Regions from separate parts of the Homo sapiens genome. Here regions 1, 2, 4 and 5 are each linked to region 3. Evidence: promoter capture Hi-C in 16 types of primary human blood cells and fetal thymus (Javierre and others, 2016). All regions are on one chromosome and are shown on one strand. The core of a region is centred on a gene start or on the middle of the fragment in contact, and the rest is flanking DNA. Distances in the headings are between cores, read along the strand shown.

Region 1 (5,967 bases), core at 865-3,364, 160 kb before region 3:
CAGGAGTTCATAAGGCAGGAGATCAGAGCCCTGCGTAGACGGTTTTAATGCAAATCCCTGCTTGTTTCTTGAGTTGCCAGTTTCACGCTTAAGAATTTGTAGTCAAGAGCTCGCACAGTTGGGTAGAATCACGCATGAGTGTTAGGGGAGATTTGCTTTCTTTGGGGGCCACTTTTCGTTTTCCAGTCAGTAGTTTTATTTCCATTTTAATTTTCCGAGCATCTGGCCCCCAGCAACAGCCTGTGGTTTGGAATTCATGGCTCTGTTGTGTGTTTACGCACTACACTTGCTTGTAATTGACAAATTTAAATTCTGGTCATATTTCATTTATTACCCAGACCCAGGGAAAAATCCTAGGCGAAAACCTAATTACAGCAAAAGTGCCACAAGGTAATTGCTGTGAAAGAACTCCTGCAGCAGCAGGGCTGAATATTTCATCCACCCATAAAATGATTATGCTGACAAGATTCTGAAAAATAATAAAATCTGTTTAATAAAAAAGAAGCAAAATATCAGTGTTTTTACACACAAAGTATTAAAACATTCTTCATTTTGGACAGATCCTAAGTCATTTGATTTTTATTCAAATGATGATCCACAGCTGAGATAGTTCTTTTATCAGAAACCGGGGTTGGGTAATCCCTCCCACATGAGGCTGTGTGGAAGCTTCCAGGCCTGCAATGGCCTTCTGGAACAGTACTGAATCGGCTTGCCACTGCTCTATTGGATCTCTGGTCTGTGCCACAGAATCAGAAAGCAGATGGAATGAAAGGAGAATGCCTTTAGTTTAGACTGCTGTCACTCCCCCACATTCTCCCTGGCCACCATGGGGGCTGTCTGTCCTTCTCTCAGAGGACCTAGAAGGCATGCAGGTGTGACTTCTGCCCTCAGAGCTTTGTTGAGTCCATCAGGGCATCTGGGGGTAATTTGCATCTGGGTGTCTCCAACTGTCCAGGATACCACTATAGCAGGGACCACTGCATTCATTCAGCTACTGAACAAGGTTGTATGGAGCATTTACCATGTGCCAGGAATTGTGTTAGACACAGCGTTGATAACAGTGAACTAGACCCTTGGTTCCTGCCCTTGACAGGAACTATATTACAGTGAAAGAGACAGGTCAAAACCAAAACAAAAAGTAAACAGAAACATAAATAAAGCATAACAAATTATATCAAGTACTGCATGGAAACACAGAAGGGGCTGGGAGAGAGGATGGGGCGATATCAGAGTAAGGCCTCTCTGAACCCTAAAGCAAAACAAGGAGCCAACATGGCAAGCTCAGAAGGAAACAGGTTCCAAACAACCGCTGGCCTGTGCCAGGCCTGAGAGGAGAGTGAGGGGAAGGGAGACTGGAGCTGTGGGGCCTTACGGACCAGGGTCAGGAGTGTAGTGTTTATTCCATTAAGGGAAACCCCTGGGAGGCTTTAAAGCAGGGGAAAGACACAATTCCATTTACATTTTAAAAAGCTCATCCCACTAGAGGCTGGAGCATATACAGTGGCTCTTAGGGACAAAGATGGTAGGTGGTGGGAGCAGACAGGAAGGACATTATTGTAACACAGGGCAGGACCAGGGCAGTGGGAGTAGAGGCAGGAGTACAGGGGGTTTTTGAGTATGGAAATTTACATATAAAAACATAAATATTTTACAAATCATCTAACATCTCAGATGTTAGCATTAGACTTTCCATTATGGTTGCAAGTGAAACTAGAGATCAAAAAATAAAATACAGCCAGGTGTGGTGGCTCACGCCTGTAATCCTAGCACTTTGGGAGGCTGAGGCAGGAGAATCACCTGAGGTCAGGAGTTTGAGACCAGCCTGGCCAACATGGTGAAACCCTGTCTCTACTAAAAATACAAAACTTAGGTGGGCGTGGTGGAGCATGCCTGTAATGCCAGCTACTCAGGAGGCTGAGGCAGAATTGCTTGAACACAGGAGGCTGAGGTTGCAGTGAGCCGAGATTGCACCACTGCACGCCAGCCTGGGCAACAGAGCAAGACTCTGTCTCAAATAAATAAATAAATAAATATAAAAATAAAACAAATTACTAGGAAATAGAAGAAACAAAGACCTAAATTAGAAAGAACTTGAAGCTGGGATGCCCATCTCCTTCTTCTCACTTTAGAGAATATAGACATTGAGTCTTCGTATCCTCGTAAGCTGCCAGCCAGTGTTTCTCAAACATGATCCAAAGACTTCCTAGGTTAAAATAGAAGGAGTCGGGAGGGCAGGGGATTACAAATGCAGATTCAGGGAGCCTCACCTTAGATTCACTAAAGCTGAGTCTTTGAGGTGGGCCCCAGAATCTGCATTTTCACAAGCTCCCTAAGTTGTGCACTGCAGAGTCTGAGACGCTGTGCTTTAAAGTGATTGATGTATCATGCTGAGAAATCACCTGACAGGGGTTAAAATTATGACTAGGCTAAATAAATAATCACGAAGAAATAAATCTCATTATCATTAATGTTAATAATCCTTGTAAACATTTTCGTAGATACGCTTCCAAATTTGCTCTTATGCACATATGCATTCTTTTTTTTCATAACAAAACGTGAGTACACCCTTATATTCTATAGGAATTGACTTCATGAACACAATACGTCTTTTGATAAAGACGCTCATTCTTCATTGCCTGGATGCTGATGAGGGCACAGTGTGGGGGTGTGGGGCAATGCCCAGAGGGAAATGACATCCACCAGGATCTATGTCTTTAATAATCAGAGGAGGTATTGTGGGGGAATGGATGCCTGACATGAGAGAATTAGAAACATATTTTATTTTGGAACAGACAGGTATTCTCTGATTGGTGGATCTCTGGAAATTAACACAAATTGTGTCATGAATATGCCTTGCCGGATGAAGGCATCTTCTAAAAAGCCAAGCACAAAGAGTTTTCAGACAAAAAGGCATAGCAAGCAACTGTCAAAACACAGTGCCATGTTGAATATTGTCAGCTTCCTTCCATCTGCTGTCTCAAAAACCTAGCTTCTCTCTTGCATTCCAGGGATGCTGACGGAGGAGGAGAGCCAGATTCTGGCACAGTAAGTTTATCTGTTTTATTATTTTGGACATCACGGTGGAAAACTTCAACATTCTCTTGGCTTTCGTATCTACTGAATCTACAAGGTTTCACACTGTTTGCTTTTCTTTCTTCAGGGTTGAAGTGTTTTGGGTAGAGAGTTGCCAGATTATCAAATAAAAATACAGGATTTCCCATTAAATTTGAATCTCAGATCAACAACGAATACATTTTGAGTATAAGTGGGGGCCATATAACATTCAGGACATACTTATACTAAAAAAAAAATCTGTTGTTTCTCTGGAACTCAAATTTAACTGGGTGTCCTATATTACATCTCATGACCCTGTTCAGAGGGAAATATTGATACAGAACTGTAATTTCTTAATTAGAAGTGAAAATGCTTCAGTTAACGTAGGAGCAATATGGATGTTCATTAATAACATCCTTCTATATTTCAGAAGTGTTTCTCCTAAAGAAAAAAAAATGACTCTGGATAATGTAACATCAGCTACTCGAAGAAGACAGTGGGCAGACACTGAAGCTTTTAGTTCACACCAGGGTAGCAGAAGTCAGCTTGCTTCTTGCTTCCTTTAAGTGATTGGCTTTGGTGAACGCAATAGTTGTTCGGGTACACAGGAATCTGCTTAATCTTTCAAATGCTGGTCATGCTCCCCAGGTAATGATCCAACACATGCTTATGTTGCTGCCTCCCAAATTAGTGCACACAGGGTTGTACAAAGTCAGGTTCAGGAGGGAGTTGATGCTCCAGCAGGGAGCTGGTCCCTAGACACAGAGGCCAGCACTCTTAATTGATAATGAACAGACAGGAGGAAAATGGGAACCCTGAGATCTAGTGGAAGAAGTAAGATAATTTACTCAATTTGTTTTCCTGGAAATGAAGACTTTATGTCAAGAATCTGTAATAAAATTAGCCGAGGTGCACACACTCAACTCCATAAAACGCTTGATCACCTTGCTGGTCTGCAGCACCTTTTTCTATTTATGGGAGCATTTACCAGTTTTTAAATCCCTTTTGTTTGATTAACATTAGAATCAACAACTGCAATCTGTGTTGGGTTCCAGTAAAGTGTTGTATTTTCACACTTATTAAAGAAGATAGATTTTGTTTTAGGGCCTTAGCTGTAAGTCTCTAACCCTGAGTAGCAAACCATGCTTTTAAACTTTCATTTTATTAGGGAAAAAAAAACACAAAGAGACAAAATCTATAGTTATTTAAGTAGAGAAAACAGTGCAATAAGTAGTCATCACTGCTCCAAGACAGTTTTATAGAGAGAAATGCATTACTAAACCTATCTTTTTCTGAGTTTTTAATCTCTTTTATTCCTCTTAGAACACTTATTTAAAAGGAACACAAAGTTGATTTTTCTTTGTGAATAACTAATGGCTTAATGATGATCTATTCCAAATAGCAGTAGTTTTGATATATTCATAAGAAGCAGTCAGCATTTTGGATGGATCCAAGGCCTTTAGATTCTGCCAAAAATCCTGTGGATTGCAATTCACAGGTAGTAGAGCTATGATAGCTCCTGCAAACAATTGAGGAACCCAAAAATGAGTTCAGTGTGCTTGGGACAATAGGACACTCCAGCCTACCAACCCCAGTGCCCATCATCACTTGATTTTCAGGATTCTCAGTCTTAATGCTATCTCCACCCACCTACTTCTCCTAAGCACCTTATTTACTCCTGTAGTTATCCACAGGGAGTTTCTAAAAGTGAAGAAGTTTTTACTTCTTCATCATCAAAATAAGTGAGGAGGAGAAAGGATACATCCTGTAAGCTTTCTGTCAAGATAGTCTTATTCTGAAGTTAAGACCCTCCTCCTTTTATTTTCTTCCTTCTGTTTTGATTTTAAATTATCCTTGCTTTTATAATACAATGAAGCCAGTTCTTTTTGCTTGGTTTTATACATTAATGTCCTAATTTAGAAATAAATGTTGCTTACCCTATGTTGGTCTCCCCGTATTTGTATTCCTCTTTTAACTCTTTCAGTCATTCTAATTATATCAAGAAGAAAGTCTTGGTTTGTGCTAGACTGTCTTTAACACTTCTCTAACACTTAATAAGAACCCATTTTAACAAAAAAGATCAGGCTGCAGAAAACACTGCAACTGGTTGCGAGCGTATATACATGATTAAAATATGCCTTATTTTCACTGTCTTTATTTTTCCAATGACTTTATGAGTTTTGTTTGTTTGTTTTGGGATGGAGTCTCACTCTGTCACCTGGACTAGAGTGCAGTGGTGCGATCTCGGCTCACTGCAACCTCTGCCTCCCGGGTTCAAGCGATTCTCCTGCCTCAGCCTCCTGAGTAGGTGAGGTTACAGGTGGCCACCACTACGTCCAGCTAATTTTTTGTATTTTTAGTAGAGACGAGGTTTCACCATGTTGGCCAGGCTGGTCTCGAACTCCTGACCTCGTGATTCACCCACCTCAGCCTCCCAAAGTGCTGGGATTACAGGCGAGCCACCGTGCCTGGCCTGACTTTACGTTTTATTCTATTTAACACTGGTGATATAAAGATTTTTAAGTAGACTTAAATTTTAAAAATAAGTAGATTTAAAATATGAAGGCAATAATATAGCTTCGTATTTTACAAAGCTGGTTATCATTAAAAACTTCTTCACCTTTAGAAACTCCCTGTAGTTAACCACAGGAGACAATAAGGTGTTTAGGAGAAGATAATAATAATATGAGTGCCATAAGCACAGAATCTTAACAGTGGCCCAGCAATTAGTACAATTTAGGAACTACTGGTTTAGCCCATCCCTCTCAATAGAAAACAGATAAGGAAACAGAGACTCAGAATAAGGAAGATATTCTTTTCTAAGATCATACAGCTGGTTATCATTAAGCTCTGTTCTCCTCTGTCCCTCCTCATCTAGGTAATTGCATTCGACAACAAATTCTGCAGTGTTAA
Region 2 (5,821 bases), core at 2,511-5,010, 230 kb before region 3:
CATATGCATCACAAAACATCTTTGCAGGAAAAATAATTACAATAGAGATTTGCCAAGTGAAAAAAAATCACTCTGAAGCTCCCCTAATTCCATTGCCCAGAGGGTTACCACCATTAACTTTTGGGGCTGTAAGATCTTCCAGACTCACTCCGTGCATTCATACACATGGAACTCTGTTTTACTGTCAAGCACATTGCTTTCTAACTGGTTTCTTTCTTTCTTTTTTTTTTTTTTTTGAGATGGAATCTCACTCCGTTACTAGGTCAGAGTGCAGTGGTGAGATCTCGGCTCACTGCAACTTCTGCCTCCCTGGTTCAAGCAATTCTCCTGCCTCAGCCTCCTGAGTAGCTGGGATTAACAGGCATGCACCACCGCACCTGGCTAATTTTTGTATTTTTAGTAGAGATGGTGTTTCACCATGTTGGCCAGAATGGTCATGATCTCTTGACCTTGGGTTCTACCCACCTCAGCCTCCCAAAGTGCTGAGATTACAGGTGTGAGCCGCTGCACCCGGGCAACTGGTTTCCTTTTACTGCCACTTTCACTAACCGTGGTATTTCTCCATGGGCAGCATTCTTGGCATTTGGGTGTGTAGGACTGTCCCTCACATAGTGACCTCTTACTCATGAATTGCCAGTGTCACATTCAGATTCTTATGGCAACCAGAAGCTCCCCTGCTCCCAGCATTTCTGGACTCAGCCTGGGCTGGGGAGGTTAGCTCAGACCAAATATCTCCTTTCTGCCAGTTGCTCTGCTAGGCCCAGGTCATGCTGAGCAGAGCAAGATGTAGCTGAAAACCAAATAAGTCACGTGTTCCAGCTTGCTGGGGTTTTGTGAAGAAAGCAGCCACCCCTCCAGTCATATAGTTTGCAGGTTGGGATTTGCATTTTGATTTCCAAAGACCCTTGAACAACTTAGCACTGCCCACCGCCCTTCAGAGCTTATTTCCACTTCCTGCCTGCCTATAGGTTCCAAGCTCATTATAACTAGCCTAAATTGCTTTTCGAATGGGAAAACACAGTAAACTTATTTTATACAAAATTTATTTATGAGATATTAACATGCCCAGTACTTGGGCAAGCACTGTGTGAGAGGTAATAGATATGGAAGAAAAATATTCAAATCTGCTTACAAAACAAGGACAATCCATTTTCATTTCAAACTGCTTAATATATTCAAGGGTTAGAGAATAAGGACAAGAAAGCCTATATATGTTTTAGAGGATGATTCTTGTGTCATGGAATTGTTCACGGCAGGCTTCCCGAGATGGTTGATAATGTGATTCAGAGAAGCTTCCACCTACCCCAGGACTGTGAGGTGTGCACATCACCTGTAATAGAAATGATAGTGATGCCATAAATGACACCATCACACTTATCATTAACTTAGTTTCTCTTGTATGTGCGGGCTTCTACACATCCTGATGGCAACGATAATGGCGATGACTTGATGTAATGAGCTTAAGTGAGACATCGTGTGCCTAACATACAGTAAGCATGCAGCAATGGAGAGTTTCAGTGTTTATCTCACTTCTTTCTCATCATAGCCCTTGCAGTAGGTGTTATCTTTCCCGTTTTGTCTGCTAGAGACCAGAGGTCAGTGAGATTCAGACACTGCCATAGATCACAACAGCTACTAGATGGAGGAGCTGGGATTTGAACCTTCCTCCCCTAAAAGCCAGGATGAAGCAGGTTAGAGCTTTGCTGGAGTTGCTTGGCTAAATTAGGGGCTACACCAACCCAACTTTTCTTCTTCATGTTCAAGTTTCTTTGATGGGTTTATTTCTATGGACTTTCCTCAATACTTCCAGAGACTGACTTGCTTTTGTTTGCCATTTCTCAGCCATTTGCTTTGGTTTGAGTGGAAAATCCTCAGCATTGGATCCTTTGCTGTTCAGCTTTAATTCAACCCTAAATTAAAGGCCTTTTAACTTTCACTTGAGTTTCTCAAGCTCTTCCTATTTCTATCTAGATCAAAGCCTAGTTTGTAGTCTGATGGAGCCTGAATATTGAAATCTATCCCCTTGGGCATACCCAGTTACTAAATTTGTTTAAATGTTTTTGAACATTAGTTTTAGAGAAGGAAAAGCCAGAGTTTGCTTTGGACCAAAGACTCCTCACTTACTGGGACTGTCATAATCTTCAAGAGCTTTCATTTATCTCTACAGCATAATTCATAAATCCTTCCTACTTTTCAGAAGAAGGCACATTCAGGCGTTATGGCGGCCCCCACACTGCCTTTGACCCATATGGTCTTTTAAATATATTTAATGAATTGTCATGATTCAAAAATCAAGGGGTTTCATATAACAAAAGAGATTTCCTGCTTCTGCTTGAAAAGGATCTAGACATATCTAGAAGATCTGGAAAGACTAGGCCTGCATTTTGAGCCCCTGAATAACAGTTGCTCCCTATAGATAGCCATGTAGTCCCTACCATGAGCCCTTGGTGTTATATCTAAAAAGTTATCACCAAACCCAATGTCATCTAGATTTTCTTCTATGTTATTTCCTAAGAGTTTTATTGTTTTGCATTTTACATTTAGGTTTATGATCAAGGTTGAGTTAATTTTTGTGAAGAGTATAAGGTTTGCATCTAGATTATTATTATTATTATTTTACATGTGAATATCCACTTTTCTAGCACCATTTGTTGACAAGGCTATCTTTTCTCCCTTGTAGTACCTGTGATCCTTTTGTCAAAGACCAGTTGACTATATTTGTGTGAGTTTATTTCTGTGATCCCCATTTCAGTTCTGTTGATCTATTTGTCTGTGCTTTCACCAATACCACAATGTTATGATCCTTTTCCAGTAAGTCTTGAAGTTGGATAGCGTTAGTTCTCTGAATTTGCTCTTCTCCTTTAATATTGTGTTGGCTATTCTGGGCCTTTTGCTCCTCCATATCAACTTTAAAGTCAGTTTGCTGATACCTGCAAAATAACTTGCTGATCTTTTTTTTAAGACAGAATTTTGCTCTTGTCACCCAGGCTGTAGTGCAATGGCACAATCCCGGCTCACTGCAACCTCTGCCTCCTGGGTTCAAGCGATTCTCCTGCCTCAGCCTCCCGAGTAGCTGAGATTACAGATGCCCACCAGCACACCCAGGTATTTTTGTATTTTTTTTAGTAGAGATGGGGTTTCACCATATTGGCGAGGCTGGTCTCGAACTCTTGACTTCAGATGATCCACCTGCTTCGGCCTCCAAAAGTGCTGGGATTACAGGCATGAGCCACCGTGCCTGGCCAACTTGCTGAAATTTTGTTTGGGATTGCATTGAATCCATAGATCAAATTGGAAATAACTGGTATTTCGACAATATTGGGATGCTCTTTCAATGAACATAGAATATCTCTCTATGTACTTAATGTGTTTTTCCCTGAAGAACCATGAATTCAAATTAAAACAGATTCAAACAGAGCTGATCAGGTGCATATGAATGGGAGGTGGCGAGAAGAGGTGTCCAAGCCCAGCTGATTAAAACTCTGTCCTTGACCAAACTTCGGACAGGCTCCTCTGTGCCCTCTTTTAAACCAGGCCTCATCCTTAGGTCTTGTCTTTGGCCTTCCTGGTCCAACTGTAGCAAAAATCCTGCTAAGTCAGTTTTCCTAGAATCTCCACATGCTTGCTATTTGGACACCTTCACTATCTGTTCAAATTCCTCATTCCCCATCTTTGATGTTTAAGTCTTTGGCCTGCCTTCAGCAGAAATTCTGTTAAGTTGGTTTAGCAAGAATCCCCTATCCCTGATGTCTCCACTTAGTAATTTTCCATTCAATGACCCCTCACTCTGCTCATTGGCTACAAATCCCTCTGTCTTTGCTGTATTTAAGTCTTCCTCACCACGTTAATGTGTCAGAATAATTTTCTTCTCTAACACAGCTCACCAGGACTCTGACCCATCTCTAAGGAATCCTAGGCTACCAGCAACACTGTGCGAAATCTCTGGGTGCTTCCTGCTCTGAGAATCCAAGGGTTTTGGTAGGGAGCCAGGGATGAGATGACTTCATGGCACTTAGAACTTCTGTACACACTTAGAGGTACATTGCTATCTTTTTCTCTCAGGAATTCCACCTGTGGAGTTGGAAGCATTATTATTATTATTTATTTATTTATTTATTTATTTATTTATTTATTTATTTATTTTGAGACAGAGTCTCTCTCTGTCGCCAGGCCAGAGTGCAGTAGTGTGATCTTGGCTCATGTAACCTCTGCCTCCTGGGTTCAAGTGACTCTCCTGCCTTAGCTTCCGGAGTAGCTGGGACTACAGGCACATGCCACCATGCCCAGCTAATTTTTGTGTTTTCAGTAGAGACGGGGTTTCACCATGTTGAAAGCACTATTTTTGTTGTTGCTGTTGCTGTTGTTGTTGTTGTTGTTGAGACACAGTCTTGCTCTGTCGTCCAGACTGGAGAGCCGTGGTGTGATCTCAGCTCATTGCAACCTCTGCCACCTGGGTTGAAGCGATTCTCCTGCCTCAGCCTCCGAAGTAGCTGGGACTACAGGCATGTGTCACCACGCCTGGCTAGTTTTTGTATTTTTAGTAAAGATGGGGTTTCGCCATGTTGGCCAGGCTGGTCTTGAACTCCTGACCTCAGGTGATCTGCCCCCCCACCCCTTGGCCTTTTAAAGTGCTGGGATTACAGGTGTGAGCCACCGTGCCCTGCCTTACAGTTTTACTATTGTAATTGCGATCAGCATTATTCTCATTTTTTGAAGTGAGGACACTGAGACTCAAAAGAACATAACTTGCCCAAGGTCATACAAAGAGGAAGTGGCAGAACCAACACCAGAACTCAGGACTATTACTTAAATTCACATACCATAACCTTTGAGACCCAACCTTGCATCTGGGTAAATATAGCATCGATCTTTTTAAACTTGCTGTTGCTATTTAAAAACATTGCTTTCTATTAAACACTGATATTTTATGGATTAGAATTACAAGGTCCCCCAAATTGTAGAAATTAAAATACAAGCGATTTCAAAAAATAGGTTGGGGATGTTTCTGGCATTTTAAAAAGACAAATATTCAAGCTGATGGATATCCCAAGTACACTGATTTGTCCTTTACAAATTATATGAATGTATTAGATTATCACATGTACTCCAACAAAAAAAGAAAATAGGTTGGATACAGATTACTCCTGGCTCCCCCAAGAAATATTCATTCATTTCCCTTTGCTCCTTAAAGTTCTTCAGTGGAAAATTGTGATAAGCAGTGGATTAAATCAAGTCCATTTTGCAGATGAAAAAAACTGAGGCTCAGAGGTACTGTTTTCATTAAGCATTGTTACATCCATTTAGCTGATACATAGCCTTTAAAAAATCAGAAGCACCATATTATTTATTGGTTTATATTGAATTTAAATCCTCTTTCTAAGTCAATAAATTTTTTTGACATTTCACATGCAAGCACCGATAAATTCTGAGAGTGAAGACTTCCTGCTCTCATAGAGCTTAGATTCCAGAGGCTTAATTGAGTTCCAGATTAGAAAAGGTCTTTGGGCAAAATAAAGGTTTGCTCAACACTCCCTATTACTTCATATTCTGTACTGTACAGCAGTTGTTTTCAAAACGTTGTTCTAGGACCTCTGGGGGCACCAAGACCTTTGCAGAGGATCTGCAGGATCAATGTTATTTTGATAATAATAAGATTTTTTTGCTGTACTGACATTTGCACTAATAGTGCAAAAGCAATGAAAGGTAAAACTGCCAAGGCTTAGCAGGAATCAAGGTGGTGGCACCAAACTGCACTAGTGATCACTGTATTCTTCACCATTCACGCAAATGGGAAAAAAGCTAGTTTCGCTCTAGAATGCCC
Region 3 (6,089 bases), core at 2,222-4,721:
GATCATGAGGTCAGGAGATCAAGACCATCCTGGCTAACATGGTGAAACCCCATCTCTACTAAAAAAAAAAAATACAAAAAATTAGCCGGGTGTGGTCGTGGGAGCCAGTAGTCCCAGCTACAGGGGAGGCTGAGGCAGGAGAATGGCATGAACCCAGGAGGCGGAGCTTGCAGTGAGCAGAGATGCGCCACTGCACTCCAGCCTGGGCAACAAAGCAAGACTCCGTCAAAAAAAAAAACAAAAAACAAAAAAAGATAAAGGCTCTTGAAATGGGGAGACAATATTGGATTATCCATGTAGCTCCTAAATGTAATCCCAAGGGTCCTAATAAGAGGGAAGTGAAGGGAGATTAAACAGATGAGAAAGCTAAGGTGATATGACCAGGGAGACAGCAATTAGAGTGATGTGACCACAGGCCAAGGAGTGCGTCAGAAGCTGGCGGGGGCAAGGAACAATGGCTCATCCCCCACGGCCACTGCAGGGAGTGCAGCCTGCAGACACCTTGGTGATTTTGGACTTCTGGTGAAATTTCTGTCGTTTGAGGCCGTCAGGTTTATGATCATTTGCTACAACAGTCATAGGTCCCATGCGGTGAGCGAGCAGTACATGTGCATCATCCATGCACCTCCTTCCACGGCACTTATCTCACAGGGATACTTGGAGTATTTCTGCCCAGAAACAGTTCTGTGGCAGGGCTAGCTGGGCCGGGCACAGGCAGGGAAAGGAGAGGAGGGCCCCAGAAGGCAGCTGCAGGTTGTCAGGAGAGGCAGGAGGTTTACCATATTCCGGTGTTTTTTTTTTTTGTAAGGAACATTCCCCTACTTCAAGCAAAGAAAGAAGAAAGAAGGCATCATGGTGGCCTCAGCGACTGCTTTCTTATTTCAGGGCTTGAAGCCACCTGGGACAAAGCAGAATGGGCACATTCTGCTGGTGGTTGCTTTCCTTCTCTCCTCTTTCTTTAGGCAGCAACTCCTTGTTTTTCCCCTGGACATTGACTCCACCCCAATGCAAGCAAAGATTCCACCCTCCCCTGCTAGGCTCCTGATCGCTCCCCCAGGAGTGTGAGTCTTGACAAAGACTTCAAGAAACAGCCCCTCAATCTATGCCGCCTGGAGCCACAGAGATGCCCAGCCATGGTCCCCGCGTGATTTCCCATGGTTCCGCAAGCTGTCCTAGAGCCTCTGGTAAATTTATTTGCTGTTGTTTTTATTTGTTTAAAGTAACCAGAGTCCATTTCTACCAAAAATACCAGGAAGCTATCAATGTAATCCTCCATTTTAGGGGAAATTTTAGGGGAATTTAGGGGAAATTTTAGCCAGATATCAGGGGGACTTTATTCTCCTTGCCAGGTCCCTAAAGTAATAAACATATTATGGTTTTTGTTTGTTTAATTAGCCAGTGTCCGGGTGACAGGCCTTAGTCCAAAGAGATTTTCTGCAAAGTGCTCTATTTTCTGCTCAGGCGTCTCTTAACTACTAGACTGTTTCAAATATTCAGAGATTCTTGACTCCCTCCCCTTAGCCAGGCTGCCCTCATACCCGGGCATCTCCGCTAAAGGGAAGAGACCAGGGTCAGGCACCACGGATACCCATCACACCTTCCCAGTGAGCTGGTCCACCTCCCCTATCGATCGGCAGAGGTGACATCCAATGACAACTTTTTCTCCTTTATTTGGCACCAGGAGGTGAGTTTCTCCTGCATTCTAATGGAGACATTATAAAAGCACAAGCAAGCAGAAATTGCCCCCGACAAAGAGAGATGTTTTATTCAACTCTTTTTATTCAATCCTTTTCCTCCTGTTCTGTGATCTTGTGGGAATGGGAGAGCCCATGCCTTTTTCTACCTGGCGTCAGTTGAACAAGACTCTCCATGTATTCACAGGTAAAGCAACAGAATCACCTGGAGGTAAGCTAAAAGCCCCAACAGCCTGCTTCCCCAGGACCTGCAAGGGTCACTGGCACTTGGCCCCACCCCAGATACTGTGAGACATAAATCATTTGAAGCCAATGGGAAATCCCATCTTGGAAGCCTAGGGCTGAGTGCCCACAACAAAGCCATTTCTCTCCTGGGGGAACTGGATCGCACCTGTGGGGGCTTCCTGTGGCTCCTTCCTGGCTAATCAGCCCCCCCCAGCGCCCAGGGCCATGGCCTCCTCTGCTATTTGGCTTCTAGTGCCCTCTCAGGCCCCTGGGCACTCCTGAGGCTGGTGAAGGCAGGAACCTGGTTTTACCAGTTTTAGGAGCTCAGAAGGAAAGGAAAGGAGAGGCTTCCCTGTCACAGAGAAGTCTGGAAACTTGGCTTATTCAGGTCTGACCCGTCTCTAATGGTCTGATGAGATTGTTGCCTGCACTGAGTGAGTTTATAGAGTCATGATAAATCCTCCTAAGACCATGCGTGGGGTTCAGTGTAGATATGACTTCAGCAAGAAGTTAGTATTCAGCATCCAAAGGGAGAACCTTTGGCGGGAGGAAGGATGGGAACTGTCAATATCCCCCAAGGGACAGAAAGAAAAGGAAGAAGTGGGTTTCAGCTATCATAGGAGGGATTTCAGTTAGACTGTAAGAAGAACTTCCCAGTTTTGAGCATTTCTAAATATCTCTGAAGTTCCAGGATATATCTTCCCATTTAGAAAGGTCACTTGAGATCTGGGATAGATTCAGAGAAGATGGAGAAGGACAAAGGAAGGCAGGACTTTGGAGTGTCCTGGGTGACCTGATAGCTGGGTCGACATCCTTTTCCTTAGAAGGACAAGGAATAGAGTACATTGTTGAACAGTTTGGTGGGGTGTGGACAGGGCGATTCTGAGGTCCTCAGACATGGAATCAAATCCTGGCTCTGCCACTTACACTTAGCAACCACATGACTGTGAAACGAGAACCATGGTACCTGCCTCAGAGAGTTCAGCTAAAGATCAAATGCCATATTGAGTATCAGACATGTATCATAGCACCTAGCCCCAAATCAGCCCCCAGTAAATATTAGCTATTACTACTAACGAAGGAAACCCTGAAAGTTTGGAGCAGAAGTCTGGACCCCTCTTGATGAATCTATTTTTGTCCCACCTCTCTACCGGTGACAAGTGCCAGCATTGGTGTTAATCTCCAGGCTGCAGCCTTCTGGCCACTCTGAGAACTGGGACCTAGAGGGCCAGGGCGCTTACTACCAGAGTAACCTGGCCACTGTGCCACCCTCCCCACTGGCCACCAGACCACGGGCCCTCCATCCAGAAGGACAGCCCCGAGAGGAAGGGAGTCCTCCTGCCTGCCTCCCTCCCTGCCCCGTGGCAGGCTGCTTTCCCCTGTCTCCCTCCAGCCCGGTCTTCAGAGAAATCACTTCCCAAGTGCTTTCAGGCCCGGTACTCACAGTCTTCCCGGCGTCCTGTGGGTCTTGAGCAGCAGACAGTTTCTTTCTGCCTGGACCCCCGCCCCCACCCCAAAAGAGGCCACAGAGCTTCAGCAGGAAGTTTGGCCTCCCCGCCCGTCTCCAGGGAAGCAGCTTTTGGTCCCCATCTGGGGCAAGCCTCCATGCCCAAACATGGTCAAGTCTGAGCACACAGCCTGGAGACACAGACTCGGAGAGCAGGTACCCAGCCCTGAGGAAGGCAGCTGTTACCCAAGCCCTGCACCTCCATCTTCCCAGAGTCTCGTGGGAAACAGATTTCAAACAACAACAGACAGCAAGACTGAGAAACTACGAAAGATCAGCCTGGTATATTTGGAAATATTTCTTCTTCTCTCTGTCTCTGTGGGCTGGCAAAGATGCCAGAAATAGGAAATGATTCTCCTTTTGTTGGCATGAGGAAGGGTGGAGTTGGGCTGGAGGGGTTGGGCTTGTCACTAGTCCCTGGCATATCCACGCTGGAGCAGCTACAGCTCCCTGCCTTTGGCACTTACGTGCTGTGTGACCCTGAGCAAGTTATGGCACCTCTCTGGGCCTCAGTTTCCTTTTTTGTTTTTGGTTTTACTCCCAAACTTATCGTTAAATGACCTCAGTTTTCTCACTTGTGTTACTGGCATTTTTAAAACCTACTTTGCTTTAGGGTAGTGATGGGAGTTAGAGACGGTGGGGATTTATGGCAAGGGGAGAGAACTGACTTTTTAAGGACCAACTGAGCTGAAGCTGGGAGTAGTGAGAGCTCCACAACTGCTTCCAACCAGGTCCAGGGACAGTCTGCTCACCAGGGGCCCTCCCAGAGACCGCGAAAGTACAGAGATTTCTTCCTAGCAATAAGACAAGTGAATGTCAGCATTTGCAGGCAAAAAACATGCTTTTAGATCTCTGCTTCTTCATCTGTAAAGTGGAAGTAAGGATTAAAAATCAGCAACAAAGGGCAGGCACAGTGGCCCACGCCCATAATCCCAGCACTTTGGGATGCCAAGGTAGATGGATTGCTCAAGCCCAGGAGTTTGAGACCATCCTGGGCAACATGGCGAAACCCCATCTCTACTAAAAATACAAAAATTAGTCGGGCATAGTGGTGCATGCCTGTGGTCCCAGCTACTTGGGAGGCTGAGGCAGGAGAATCGCTTGAACCTGGGAGGCGGAGGTTGCAGTGAGTCAAGATTGTGCCACTGCACTCTAGCCTGAACAGAGCGAGACCCCGTCTCAAAAAAAAAAAACAAATATATATATATATATATATATTTTCAACAAAACAACAAAAACAATCCCAGATATTGGGGCTTTCCTAAGTATCAGGCGTGGTGGTAGAAGGCAGCTTATCTCCACCCTTCACTTGACCCAAGAATCAAAGAACCTGAAACTGAGACTTGGAGGCTTGAAGTCACTGGTGCAACCCTAGGGGCCAGAACTAGATTCGAAGCTGGCCCTTCCAGATGGCACAGCTTGGTCTGTCTCTGATGACCCTGGGGCTGCTCTGAGACATTAAAAATCACCTCGATCATACAGTAAGCTGCCACCTGAGGCTCTGGAGGTCACCCTGAGTTTCCCCAGCCCCCAGGGAGGTGGGTGCAGCCTGGCCTTCCCTGCTGAGCGAGCTCACCACCTTCCTCCCTCCTGCCTCCAGCAGGCGCGAAATGAAGGCAGCCACTCAGGCCTCCCTGACACACTCTCAGGCGGTGAGTGCCCTTCTCCACCCCTTTCCTAATTGAATCTTATTAACAGGAGACTACAGTGTCTGTTTAATGGGCACCATAGCACCAGAGGGTCTAAGACCAGCTTCAGACCTTGCAGGCAGATTGACAGAGGGATGTAGGATCTGGAATTCAATCTCAGAAGAGCAATTTTCCAAGGATGATCCTCTGTCCACTCAGAAGCAGGAAAAGTCCTCCTGGGGCTAATCCAGAAATGCCAGGCCCCCCTCCTGCTTCCCTGGGGGAGAGATACACAGTGCAACAGGCTGCCATTTATGAGTATAACCGAAGGGCTCCTTGCTCGTGATACTCTGAATAAGTTATTAAGGGCTACATATTATTTGGAAATCATAAACAAACTTTAGCATTCTTCCCAAGGGAAGGTGGGAACAAACAGGGAAGGGGGGCCGTGGGGTCTTCTGCTCCCCCTAAATGAGCCACAACCAAAAGGCATTGACAAGCCCTGTCCTCGAGGGTTTGTGGGTGAAAACCCAGGTCCTTTGCTGGCTGCGGGGTTGTGTGTGACAGATGGCTACAGGTGGAGGGCAAGAAAATAACAATGCTGCAACAATAAATATTGACGGTTTGCATTAGTACGGGGTGTCAGAGATCACAAAATATCTTCTCTGACTCTTCCAACAGCTTCTTAAGGTACTAGCACAATAGGCTCACAATAGACCACTGAGGTGGAGATTTTTCTACCCATTTGATAGAGGGAGTAACTGAGCCTCAGAGAGGTGAAATAAATTGCCCAAGCAAGTTACTTTGCCTCTCTAAGCTTCAGTTTGTCTGTCTCTAAAATAGAGATAATTATACCTAGCCCCTCAGTGTTTTTGAGGAATGAGAGATCACCTAAGCTACCTGACACATAGTATGGAGATTGTCCTTTCCAAAGATGGTCACACCAAATACTTCCCATTCCATGTGCCCTTTTCACAGTGTGGCATCAACACTCCACCATCAAGAGGGGCATTGATGTCTCTTCCCCTTCACCCT
Region 4 (5,245 bases), core at 1,912-4,411, 190 kb before region 3:
AATTTCCAGCTCTGTGCCAATTTGGGGTCAAATGATATATTTCACTTTTGTCAACGAGCTTTGCTTTTCTGAGCCTCAGTTTCCTCATTTGCAAAATGGGAGTGATACTTCCTGACGTTCTGGGCTGTCGTAAAAACTAAATAAGATAGTGTATGTCCAGGCCAACTCAGCATCAGGCACACAGTTAGCACTCACATATGTGACGTGAGAGGTGTGAGGCACCCTCTGAACTAAAACACTAAATCAAAAAACAGATACGGAGCTGGGCATGGTGGCGTGCACCTGCAATCCCAGCTACTCAGGAGATGGAGGCAGGAGGATCCTTTGAGCCCAGGAGCTTGAGTTCAGCCTGGGCAACATAGAGAGACTCCATCTCTAAAATAAAATAACATAACGTAACGTAACGTAAAGTAAAATAAAATAAAATAAAATAAAACAAAATAAAATAATTAAAGAAAAACAGATATGGGGAGGAGCTCTCTCTGGCTTTCCCTCCCGGCTCCAATTCCACAGCTCCGGAATCCGCACCTGGTAGACCCTTTCGCTCTGAACTCAAATGCCTGGCCTTATTCTGGCAGGGTTAGAAGCACAGGCTTGCGTTCTGGGGGATGAGTACAGGTAAGCCACTTCCCCGGGGATTTCACTGTAGCTTCTGAGCACATACAGATAGATAGTATCCTTATAATAATATTATTTATGCGGCTCTTATTATTTGCTAGTTACTTTCTTTGCGCCCTTAAGCAAGGAACTAAACCTCTCTGAGCCTCAGATTCCTTATCTAGAAATCAGAGAAAATAATAATGCTTATTCAGAGCGATTGTGAAAATAAAATTAGCTCATACATATAAAACAGAACAGTGCTTGATGCACAGCCAATTCAAAATGTAAATATAATTAACACTATAAATACATTGAAACAATATAAAATTAGTTGTTATTTGGCAGGCACTGCGCTATACACATATGCATGATTCTCAGAACAACCTTCAAGGTATCTACTATTATTATAATCTCATACAACAGTTGAATAAACTGAAAAGTGAAGTAAATATTGCCCTAGACCACTTGGCCGATAATTGGCACATCTAAAATTCAAAATTGATTGGCTCATTCCAAAACCAAGCTCCTAATTGTTATGTGCTCATCAGTGTGGAAGTAAGAGATTGTCAAATATTACTTCACACCCCCCCCCTTCATTAGTTAAAAAATAGACAACCACCACCTCAATGATGCCAACAACTACAAAACTCAACTCCACAGGACCCCTGTCATGCTACGAGCAGATGGCATCGATCCTGACTTTGCTGCCATGAAATCCCCTCAAGAGAGCCCCACATCAGGGGTCCTGAGTTTGCAGACAGTCATTAGAGACATCCTTGTTTGGGAAACAGCTGCCCTCCACCCTGATTTCACAGCTGGGGAAACAGGGCCTGGAGAGGAGACTCATCTGGTCCCCTCTGTTTTATGCCGCTCCTTTCTCTTGCCAGTAACACCACACCATGGAGCTTTGCCTCTCGGGGCCCATTCATCTCAAATCCTTTTTCTGATTAGCTCACTGTGCTGCCTGCCACCCAGGTTCTCATCAGAGCACTCACGGGGCCTTGGCTATTTAAAAATTCTGTTAACTCGAGAAGTCTCTGCCACTGCCCCTGCCAGCACCAGGCTCACCCATGTTTGGCTTTTGCATTCTGTGCTTCCTAATCCCATTTCTGGGGCTTAATTATGATTACACAGCTTTATTATGTAGAATTGATTTTAAGTAATGGCCCTAATTAAGAGTGAATTTTAATTAAGCTTAATTCAGAGCCTGCCTCCGATTGCCAAAGATTTGCAGCCTGAGAAGAGGAAAGGCTGCCCGTGCACAAAACTCACACGTGACTTTGATCTTCATGCTGCTGGACTGTTGCAGCCAGATGGGTTTGTACTATTTTCTGGCCTCAGGGTGCATTTCTTCACCAGGGTGCAGGAGGTATCAGCTCTAGTCCATCTTCCCCTTCCATGCAGAAGCAAACTCGGAGCGCTGGCAATAAACAGAAGTGGGGATCCTGCACCTTTGGGGTGAATATCAACTACACCACCCACCCTGTTGTAGAAAATGAAGCTCATTTGCTTCCTTCCAACTGCTCATGAAACCTGTTCCACAGGTGAGAAAACTAAAGCTCAAGAAGGCCACGGCACACACAGGCAGCGAGGGCAGCAGGAAGATTGGAAATCAGCTCTGCTCCCAATGCCTGTGCCCACTCTGTTCCAACACAGCCTTCCAGTAAGTGGCAATCATCTCTGACTTTGGCAGAAACCAACCTGCTTGAATTTCCTGCCTGCCCACCTAAGCCACTGCTTCCCCAACTTTAGAAGCTCATACGCTGTGAAGGTGGGTCTTTTATGTAAGAGTGAAAAACATCTCAAACCAACTTGTTTTCAAACGAAAATTTTTTCCTACCTTTAAAACTGCTATAAAGCAAAAGTTGTCATAAAAATGTTAAAAAGGAAATAAAACAATGTGATTAAATCCAAATCAGAAACTATTACCTTCTAAAGCCCTAGGAGTAAGGCTTGATCTGCCTGACTTTAAAAAACAGAGATGAGAAGATAGTTCGACCACAACAGCACCAAACTGAGACTTTGTCCCTAACATAATCGGAAAGACCGAAAAAGAGTTGGGAGGACATTGTGTTGCTCCGTGATACAGTGTTATTTAAAGTCGTGTCCAGGTGTCAGCTAAAATCGACTCTCCTTTGTCCAACATTTTCACGGACACTGATCCAAACCAATTTAGCACAGGTTTCCAGGGACCTCTGGGTAATAATGCCCCTCAGCTGCCCTACAGATGACAAGATTCTGGACAGAAACCCAGCTCCCCTAACCCACAGCCCTGGCCCAAGGACAAGATATGGGCATTCCTTTGGTGTTTCAAATAAAAACACAGTGAAATCAATATGTTCTCCAAGACCGGCTGGTGGAGGCTGTTCACCTGCGGAGAAGGGGCCTGGTCATCCGGTTCCTGAATGCCTTTGCCACACTAGAATGTTTTATGGTTCTAAAGTTCCCACCTTAGAAAATCACCCACTAAGAAGCCAAGCTCTGAAAACGTTTTGATTTTTCTAGAGGGAAATGGAAAGTGAAAAATGGAATTCAATTACCTTGAAAAGGGGCAATTTCACTCACAACTGTTACACTTAAAAGCTCCATATGAAACAGGCATTCAAATAAGTCTCAGCCTAAGTTAAAAGAAAAAGGGGAAAAAGAAAATCATGTATTAATCCTCTTCCCTCTACTCCTTCTGACCTAGTGAGTCTTCCTTAGACTCAAAAAAGATAGATGGACTTGAAACACGATTAAATAAGCATGTTAGGACTTTAATAATCCAAGCCGCAGGAGTTTCTATTAAAAGTTGGGTATTTAGAAGAACCATTTGGTTAACCAGTCTAGTGACACAGAAACCACCATGTGAGGGAGGCTCTTCTGAGCAGAGCTGAAGCAGGGACTCCCTGCTTTTCTCTCAGAGATTTGGGGGTAAAGTTACCATCAGACCCTTCAGTTCAGCTGAAAACTCTGAGATGCCCAATACACTCCCATTTTCTACTTCAAGGAAACTTCACTAAAACAGAGGAAAAGATAATAGCCTTGATTGAAATAGAAAGGCGTTACAGAAACTGACACCAAACAACACAACAGACATCATCATCCCATCATAACCATGACGCGCTCATTCTTTCTTTACATCTTCATTCCTGCTAGGTCAAGGCAAGCCGTAGAAGTGGTTTTGTGACCACCATGATGGTTTCCCAAGGCAAATTTAGACAGCATATTTTCTCCTACCACAAAAAACTCCAGCCAGACTCTCCAGTGGTTGAATTCCTATTCCTCAAGTTACCAGCTGTGGAACTCTGTGCCTCAGTTTCCCCATCTGTAAAATGGAGATAACAGTAGCATCTACCTCATAAGATTGCTGTAAATATTAAATGAGATAGTGCTTAGCACAATGCATGGCACATAGCAAGCACTTGGTGGCCGATCAATGGCAAATACGAACACTGGCTCGAGCTTACTGCCATGGTTTATCTTAGCAGCTCCTGACTTGCCTGTTGAGAAAAAATGCTCCTAAACTCAGAAGTATTCAGAAAACCTACAGCAAGGTGGTGAGAGACTAGACTCTTCAAACCTCTGAGGTGCTTTTCTGTCCTCATTCCAGTTTTCTGCCCATCACATTGGCCAAAGAGCTCTAGCCAGAGTTGAAGCCAGTGCTGATCACTTTCCTGACAACCTGGCTGGCAGAGATGGGACCGTATGTAGCACAGGGAAGAGGTGTGTTTTCAGACAGCTTCCTCTCGGAAATCCATTTTGACTGTAGATCCAAAGAAAATCCTTCCAGGCTTCTTGTGCACACGCCAAAACCTGCACACATGTATGCATTTCTTCCTCTCTGTGCATCTCTCCTGCACATCTGGGCAAAAACCAATCTCTGCAGGTAGCATCTTGTGCATATAGCTGTCCGGCCCTATGATAAAATGCATTGTTTCTCTCTGAGTGAAGCTTAATGCACCTCAGCCTGGGGATTTATACTAAGCAATAAAATCCACAGGATAGAGAAATGCAAATAGATTGTAGAATATAATATTATCATTGTCAACATAAAAGACTTTTATTTACTGCCCCCCAAAAGAAAATACACCATAGTGTCGTTTGTTTCAGGGAATGCAAAAAAGGTTTCAACAACTAACAGGGCATGTTTCTGAGCAAAATATACCCCGTATATAATGTTGGAACACATATTGTCAGTGGCCACTCGTGTGTCTGTGTTCTTGCAAACAAACCTGTGGAATTGAGTCATGGAAGGTCACTTCCAGCCACCTCTCTGAGCCACACGGCACCTACCTGGCTCTGTTCACAAACAAACCAGACAATATAGACCTATTTGAAGGGAGAGACCCTCTGAGGCAGGCCACACTCCATCAGCACATCTTAGAATGAGGCATTTGAGTAGTTGCTGACTTGGCTTACTGGGGAATGGAGTTGTGGTGGAGGTTGATTAAACAGATGGTCCATGTTGCTTTGGGCAAAGGGAAAAGTTAAAGAGAAGATGTAGCAGAGCACATGGGAGGTGACAACTCCATCTTTTCTCTAGAAGATATCCCTACAACTCCCCCTTAATGCTCAAGGTCATTCCACCAATGCTTTTGTTGCACAGGGTATTGACAACTTACAAGACCAATTATTTTCACTGATTTGTTTGAATGATAAGTCT
Region 5 (5,569 bases), core at 2,451-4,950, 230 kb after region 3:
TGTCCTCTTTCTTACTTCATTCTTTCCTTCTCTTCTTTCCTTCTAATAGAAGGTATAGAGAAGACAGCACATTCCTACTGAGCTCTATATGGAGAGCTGCAGTCATGGGGGACACTGTCTAGATCTGGGGACCCTCCCAAGCTCTCAGAGCTTTGGAAGGAAGGTCCCTGCAGGGAAACTGTGTGTGTTTCTTCAACAGTGTATCCTCAGTGCCTAGCACATGGTAAGTGTTCCATAAACAGCTGTTGAAGAGACGGATGGATAACTGAATGAATGGATGCTTCCATGGGCAATGACACACTAATCTGAAAAGCCCTGTATCAATGAAAGAATCACTTAATAGTTTAACTTTTCCCTCATCCTTCAGAACACAGATGGCATGCCATCTTCCCTTCAAATCTCTTCCCAGTGCCCCACACAGAAGAGGCACACTTGGACACTGGTGTCTGATGGACCCAAGTTCACAGCCTGTCTCTGGTCATCAGGTATCATGACCTTGGGCAAGAAGCTTAACTCTCTGAGCCTCAGTTTCCCCTTCTGTCCCCCAGGGAAAATGAGTCCTGCCCCTCCTAAGGGAGGTATGAGATGTAAGACCCCGAAGGACACAAAGGTTTGCCAGGAGCCTTCAGGTAGGAGGCAGGTAAGGAGGTCTGCTAGATTGGAATGAGTTTCTGGAAGGCCCCAAGGAGCTCAAAATCAGACCTGGGGTGAAGGTGTCTTGACCAAAATGAGACCCATCAAAGAAGCCTGGATGAAGGTGCCCACAGCATCCATCAGTGCCAAAAACAGAAACACTTTAGCCCAGGATACAAGGAACATTTTAAAGCAACAGAGATAAGAGATAGTTAGAACTCAGGCCTCCTGGCTCTTGCTGTTCTTGGCCCATAATTAGTTGTTATGGGACCTTAATAAACTTCTTGCCTTCTTGGTACCTTTGCCAAACAATCTGATGAGGAGAATATTGAGTCATGGTGCCAGGGAAAATTAGCATATTCTGCAAATTCCTGGCACTGTTAACACTGGATTCTGTCCACCTTTAGAAATCCTCAGATCACTATGTCAGCATCCCCCAATCACAGCTCTCCAACTTCAAGGAGGGTTGAGGGGTCTGAAGAAGGAGAGAGAGGCAACAGAGCCAGAAACCCTTCAGAAGATGCCAAGAGCAAGGTTTGGACCCATAGTCCACCACTTACTAACTTCAAGAGTGTTATGAGCTACAAACTTCTCAGTCTCCGTTGACTCATCTCAAAAATGGAAGTAAAATTATTTACCATGCAATATGTTGTCAAAATGCATTGGGTTTAGTTCATAGCAGGTGCTCAAAGAATATCAGTTCCACTTCCCTTGTCCCTAGAGAGCCTTGTAGTGGATGTTGATGTGTCTTCCAACACATGCACCAACCTTTCCCTGTCCTGTAGCAGTTGAGATGGAATCATCCCACTCCCAGCTCCAGGAATAGGCTCTGATGGGCTTGAACCCAGCAGCTTAATTCCATTGGTTCTCTAGGCCTTCATCATTAGTACAGGAAAGGCACTTGACCTAAATTAGTTCGATAAGATTTAAGCTCAGAAATCTGGTTTGTTGGATGGAGAAAGAGATGCTTTCTTTCTCTCTGGAAGGAGTTTATTGCAAAAGTAAGGGCTGGGGCTGCTACAGCCATTGTGCTACCATGAGGGAACTAGCCATGATAACAAAACTTGCCTGGGGAGGGGCTACGCATCACAGAAAATGATGCCAAAGTCCTGCTCAAACTGTGCCTGATGCCTGCCTGATCTATGGACTTCTTAGTTCCATGTAATGGATTCTCTCTATTTTTAAAGCCGTATCAGGTTGAATTTTTGGAGAAATAAAACAAAAAGCATCTTGACTAATTTAAAAAATCTTCTTTGGGTATTCAACCCTCCTAAACTCACCCCCAAATCCACTGGGAGCATGTCAAGATTTTTGTGAGCCGATTTAGGAGATGCAAATTCATTTGCCTTAATTGGATCTCCAGGAAATGACTTCTGCCCCCTCTTAAATCATTTAAAGCTCAAAGAGGCATGAGGGCCCTCCCCAAGGATGCAGGTATCCTCTTGACTGACAGCCTGTATGCTCTGCTTCCAGGATCCTTCCATCTCCTCCCTTTACTGAGGGAGTCTGCTATGTGTTAGAGGTGTCCATCACTGGTCACACTGGGAAGCTGTGGCAGGGAAGCTGGAGAAAAAGCAAGATAGGCCCCAGAAAGAACACCAACTCCAGACTCAGGGAGACTCAGGCCAGAATCCTAGCTCAACTTCTTCCAAGCTCCCAAAGTCACACTCTTTTCTCTGAGCCTCGATTTTCCCATCTGCAAAATGGGGATACTAAGGGTCACCTAGCTGGGCTGCCCTGGAGATTCCAAGACATTAGGCATAGAAACAGTCTGGCCTAGACCCTGTAGGCCAGTAGGCATTTGATCAATGGCAGCTGTGGTTGAGATTTTTATCATCATTATGGCTGCCCTTCCTGCTTTCCAGGGCTAGTGTAGATCTAAGATTATAGGGGCTGCAACGTTCCTCAGTGGAGCAGATGCAGCAAGGTAGTAAGAGAGGGCATTCTCACTTGTCCCCACAGAGTGTGGTGTGGGGGAGATCTGTGAGCACCCCAGCAGCCATGAGGGTCAGCACTTGAATCTCTGCAGGTCAGTCATACTCCTCTTTATTATTTTTATTTTTATTTATGTATTGATTTATTGCTCTGTCACCCAGGCTGGAGTGCACTGGCACCATCATAGCTCACTGCAGCCTTAAACTCCTGGGCTCAAGTGACTCCCACTTCAGCCTCCCAAGTAGCTAGAGCCACAGGCACATGCCACCACGCCTAGCTAATTTTTCAATTTTTTGTAGAGACAGGGTCTCACTGTGTTGCCCAGGCTGGTTTCAAATTCCTAGGCTTGAGTGATCCTCCCGCCTTGGACTCCCAAAGTGCTGGGATTACAACTGTGAGCCACTGCACCTGGCCTTATTCCCTTCTTTTTATCAGTTTTCAAAGCCATCAGTATGCAGAGCACTAGGCCCAGAAATGAGAGGAGAAGAGAGATGGAACGACGAAGACCAAAACCTCTGTCCTCAAGCTGCTCATAAGCCAGTATAGAGACGTGTGGAGTCTGCTGTCCTGAGTTCCAGTCCCAGTTCCCCTTGCAAGCAGCCGTGTGACTTGCAGCAAGTCATTGAATCCCTTTGAGCCTCACTTTCCTTGTCTAGAAAACAACAAAACTGGAAATAATACTGCTTCCCTTCCAGTTTGTCAAGGATGAAGGTGCTTTGCACGGTCCCTGGAGCAAAATGTGTTCTCAATCAAGATTCCGTCTGTGGTGGGTGGAGCCGCGTCCTTCCCAAATTCATATTCACTCAGAACCTTCAAATGTGACCTTTTTCAGAAATAGCATCTTTGCAAGTTTAATTCAGTTATGGGTCTCAAGATGAAATCATCTTGGATTTGGGGTCTATCCGAAATCCAGTGACTGATGTCCTTATAAAAAGAAGGGATACAGGCCGGGGCCAGTAGCTCACGCCTGTAATCCCAGCACTTTGGGAGGCTGAGGCAGGCAGATCACTTGAGGTTAGGAGTTCAAGACCAGCCTGGCCAACATGGTGAAACCCCGTCTCTACTAAAAATACAAAAATTAGCTGGGTGTGGTGGTGAGCACCCATAATCCCAGCTACTCGGGAGGCTGAGGCAAGAGAATTGCTTGAACCCAGGAGGCAGAGGTTGCAGTGAGCCGAGATCGCGCCACTGCACTCCAGCCTAGGTGACAAGCGTGAGACTCTGTCTCAAAAAAAAAAAAAAAAAGAGTGGATACAGAGAGGCAGTGAAGAAGGCTGTGTGCAAAGACAGGCAGAGGTTAGTGGGATGCAGCGCGAGGCTAAGGAGTGTCTGGGGCCACCAGAAGCCAGGGAAGCCTAGGAAGGGTTTTCCTAGAGCCTTTGGAGGGAGCACAGCCCTGCTGACACCCTGACTTCAGACTCCCAGCCTCCAGAGCTGGGAAGGGATAAGTAGCTGTTGCTTTAAACCAGTGGTCCCCAACCCTTTTGGCACCAGAAACCGGTTTTGGTTCAGTGGAAGACAATTTTTCCACGGACAGGGTGTGTGGGGTGGGAGATGGTTTCAGGATGAAACTGTTCCGCCTCTGATCATCAGGCATTAGCATTAGTTAGATTCTCATAAGGAGTGAGCAACCTAGATCCTTCGCATGCGCAGTTCGCAATAGGGTTCATGCTCCTATGAGAACCTAATGCGGCGGCTGATCTGACAGGAGCGGAGCTCAGGCGGTAATGCTTGCTCGCCAGCTCACCTGCTGTGCAGCCGGGGTCCTAACAGGCCACAGACCCATCCGTGGCCCAGGGGATTGGCGACCCCTGTCTTTTTTTTTTTCTTTTTTTTGAGATGGAGTTTCGCTCTTGTTGCCCAGGCTGGAGTGCAATGGCACGATCTCGACTCTTCAACCTCCGCCTCCTGGGTTCAAGCCATTCTCCTCCCTCAGCCTCCCAAGTAGCTGGGATTACAGGCACCCGCCACCATACCTGGCTAATTTTTGTATTTTTAGTAGAGATGGGGTTTCTCCATGTTGGTCAGGCTGGTCTTGAACTCCCGACCTCAAGTGATCCGCCCACCTCAGCCTCCCAAAGTGCTGGGATTACAGGCGTGAGCCACCACGACCTGCCCGGGGACCCCTGTCTTAAACCACCCCAGCCTGTGATACTTTGTTATGGTGACCCTAAGAGGCAAATACACCCTCCTTTCCCCAACCTCTCCCCTCAGACGAAACCGATGCGAAAAGTGCTTCATGAAGTTTCAGGTAAAGAAGTCTGGGACGAAAAGGGATAGTGAGGATGGCGGGAGGGGCTGAACTCCAAATGGGCTTATCAAGGCTCTGCAAAATGGCGTGACGGCGCTGCCCCCTTCTGGTGGCCTGAAGACTAACGCACATGATGTCAAGTGCGGGGCCCAAGTACTCAGGAAAAGGTTCTCATTTGGACACTGGGAGGTCTTACATTGGGGGCCCTGAGCCTCCAGCCCTTCCAAATCTATTCTCAGCAGGAGCTCAGCCACACCTGTGTCCCAGAACTGAGGCCAGGCCCAGCCTTCACTCCACGCCCAGCCAGCCCCAAGGAACCGACTCCCTGAGGCTCTATGCTCCCTGCCTCCAGTGGCCCCGTGTCTGGGAAATAGTGGCCCTGGCCTGATGCCCTGACCTGGGCAATCCATCCCCTGGTCCTCTCAGCTCCCGGGCCCAGGTTTTCTGGGCTACTTTAACCAGGGCAAACTCATTCCTCGAGTACAAAATAAAAGATTCGAACAGCATAATCAAATAGGTCATACCCATAAATCAACACATTTGAGCACCTATTTTGTTGTTCTTTCACTAATCCAAACCATATTTATTGAGCATCTACTATGTGCCATTCTCCAGTAGCCATTCTAGGTGCAGGGGATACAGCAGAGACCTTGAAAAAAGGAACAGTCTCTGATCTTGCTGAGCTTAGAGTCAAGTGGAGGTGAGGAGGAAGGAAATGAATTAACAACTAAGTGAAGCAGAAGGTAACCA

The links. Contacts are between HindIII fragments. The CHiCAGO score rates a contact against its expected background, and 5 or more counts as called.
Region 1: a fragment that was not itself captured here is called in contact with the fragment with the promoter of KCNMB1 in region 3 in 14 of 17 cell types (activated CD4 T cells, naive CD8 T cells, M1 macrophages and 11 more); the score reaches 10.3 in activated CD4 T cells.
Region 2: a fragment that was not itself captured here is called in contact with the fragment with the promoter of KCNMB1 in region 3 in 1 of 17 cell types (non-activated CD4 T cells); the score reaches 6.1 in non-activated CD4 T cells.
Region 4: a fragment that was not itself captured here is called in contact with the fragment with the promoter of KCNMB1 in region 3 in 7 of 17 cell types (activated CD4 T cells, non-activated CD4 T cells, total CD4 T cells and 4 more); the score reaches 9.2 in activated CD4 T cells.
Region 5: a fragment that was not itself captured here is called in contact with the fragment with the promoter of KCNMB1 in region 3 in 1 of 17 cell types (M2 macrophages); the score reaches 6.3 in M2 macrophages.

The regions. Positions count from the first base shown.
Region 1 is chr5:170,226,204-170,232,170 of GRCh38, forward strand. No RefSeq gene overlaps it. Among named protein-coding and RNA genes, the nearest start is that of C5orf58, 3.8 kb to the right of the region's middle. The HindIII fragment of the contact is 2,901 bases long and covers 665-3,565 here.
Region 2 is chr5:170,155,379-170,161,199 of GRCh38, forward strand. No RefSeq gene overlaps it. Among named protein-coding and RNA genes, the nearest start is that of LINC01187, 41 kb to the right of the region's middle. The HindIII fragment of the contact is 4,941 bases long and covers 1,291-5,821 here.
Region 3 is chr5:170,385,896-170,391,984 of GRCh38, forward strand. KCNMB1 (potassium calcium-activated channel subfamily M regulatory beta subunit 1) reads right to left here and starts at 3,472. Exons shown (of 4, transcript NM_004137.4): 1 at 3,364-3,472. It overlaps KCNIP1-OT1 (KCNIP1 overlapping transcript 1), which reads left to right and starts at 3,598. Exons shown (of 3, transcript NR_109899.1): 1 at 3,598-3,708. It also overlaps a transcript of KCNIP1 not described here. RefSeq lists enhancers at 1,587-2,087, 2,088-2,588, 4,513-5,013, 5,014-5,514, 5,767-6,089. The HindIII fragment of the contact is 12,470 bases long and covers 1-5,869 here.
Region 4 is chr5:170,194,612-170,199,856 of GRCh38, forward strand. It overlaps LINC01187 (long intergenic non-protein coding RNA 1187), which reads right to left and starts at 4,530. Exons shown (of 5, transcript NR_108022.1): 1 at 4,131-4,530; 2 at 3,141-3,218; 3 at 1,873-2,020. The HindIII fragment of the contact is 2,739 bases long and covers 1,793-4,531 here.
Region 5 is chr5:170,618,827-170,624,395 of GRCh38, forward strand. All of the region lies in intron 1 of KCNIP1 (potassium voltage-gated channel interacting protein 1), which reads left to right. It overlaps LOC124901132 (a long non-coding RNA gene), which reads left to right. Exons shown (of 2, transcript XR_007059045.1): 1 at 1-640; 2 at 1,041-1,278. Among named protein-coding and RNA genes, the nearest start is that of KCNIP1-AS1, 60 kb to the right of the region's middle. RefSeq lists an enhancer at 4,739-5,033. The HindIII fragment of the contact is 6,388 bases long and covers 507-5,569 here.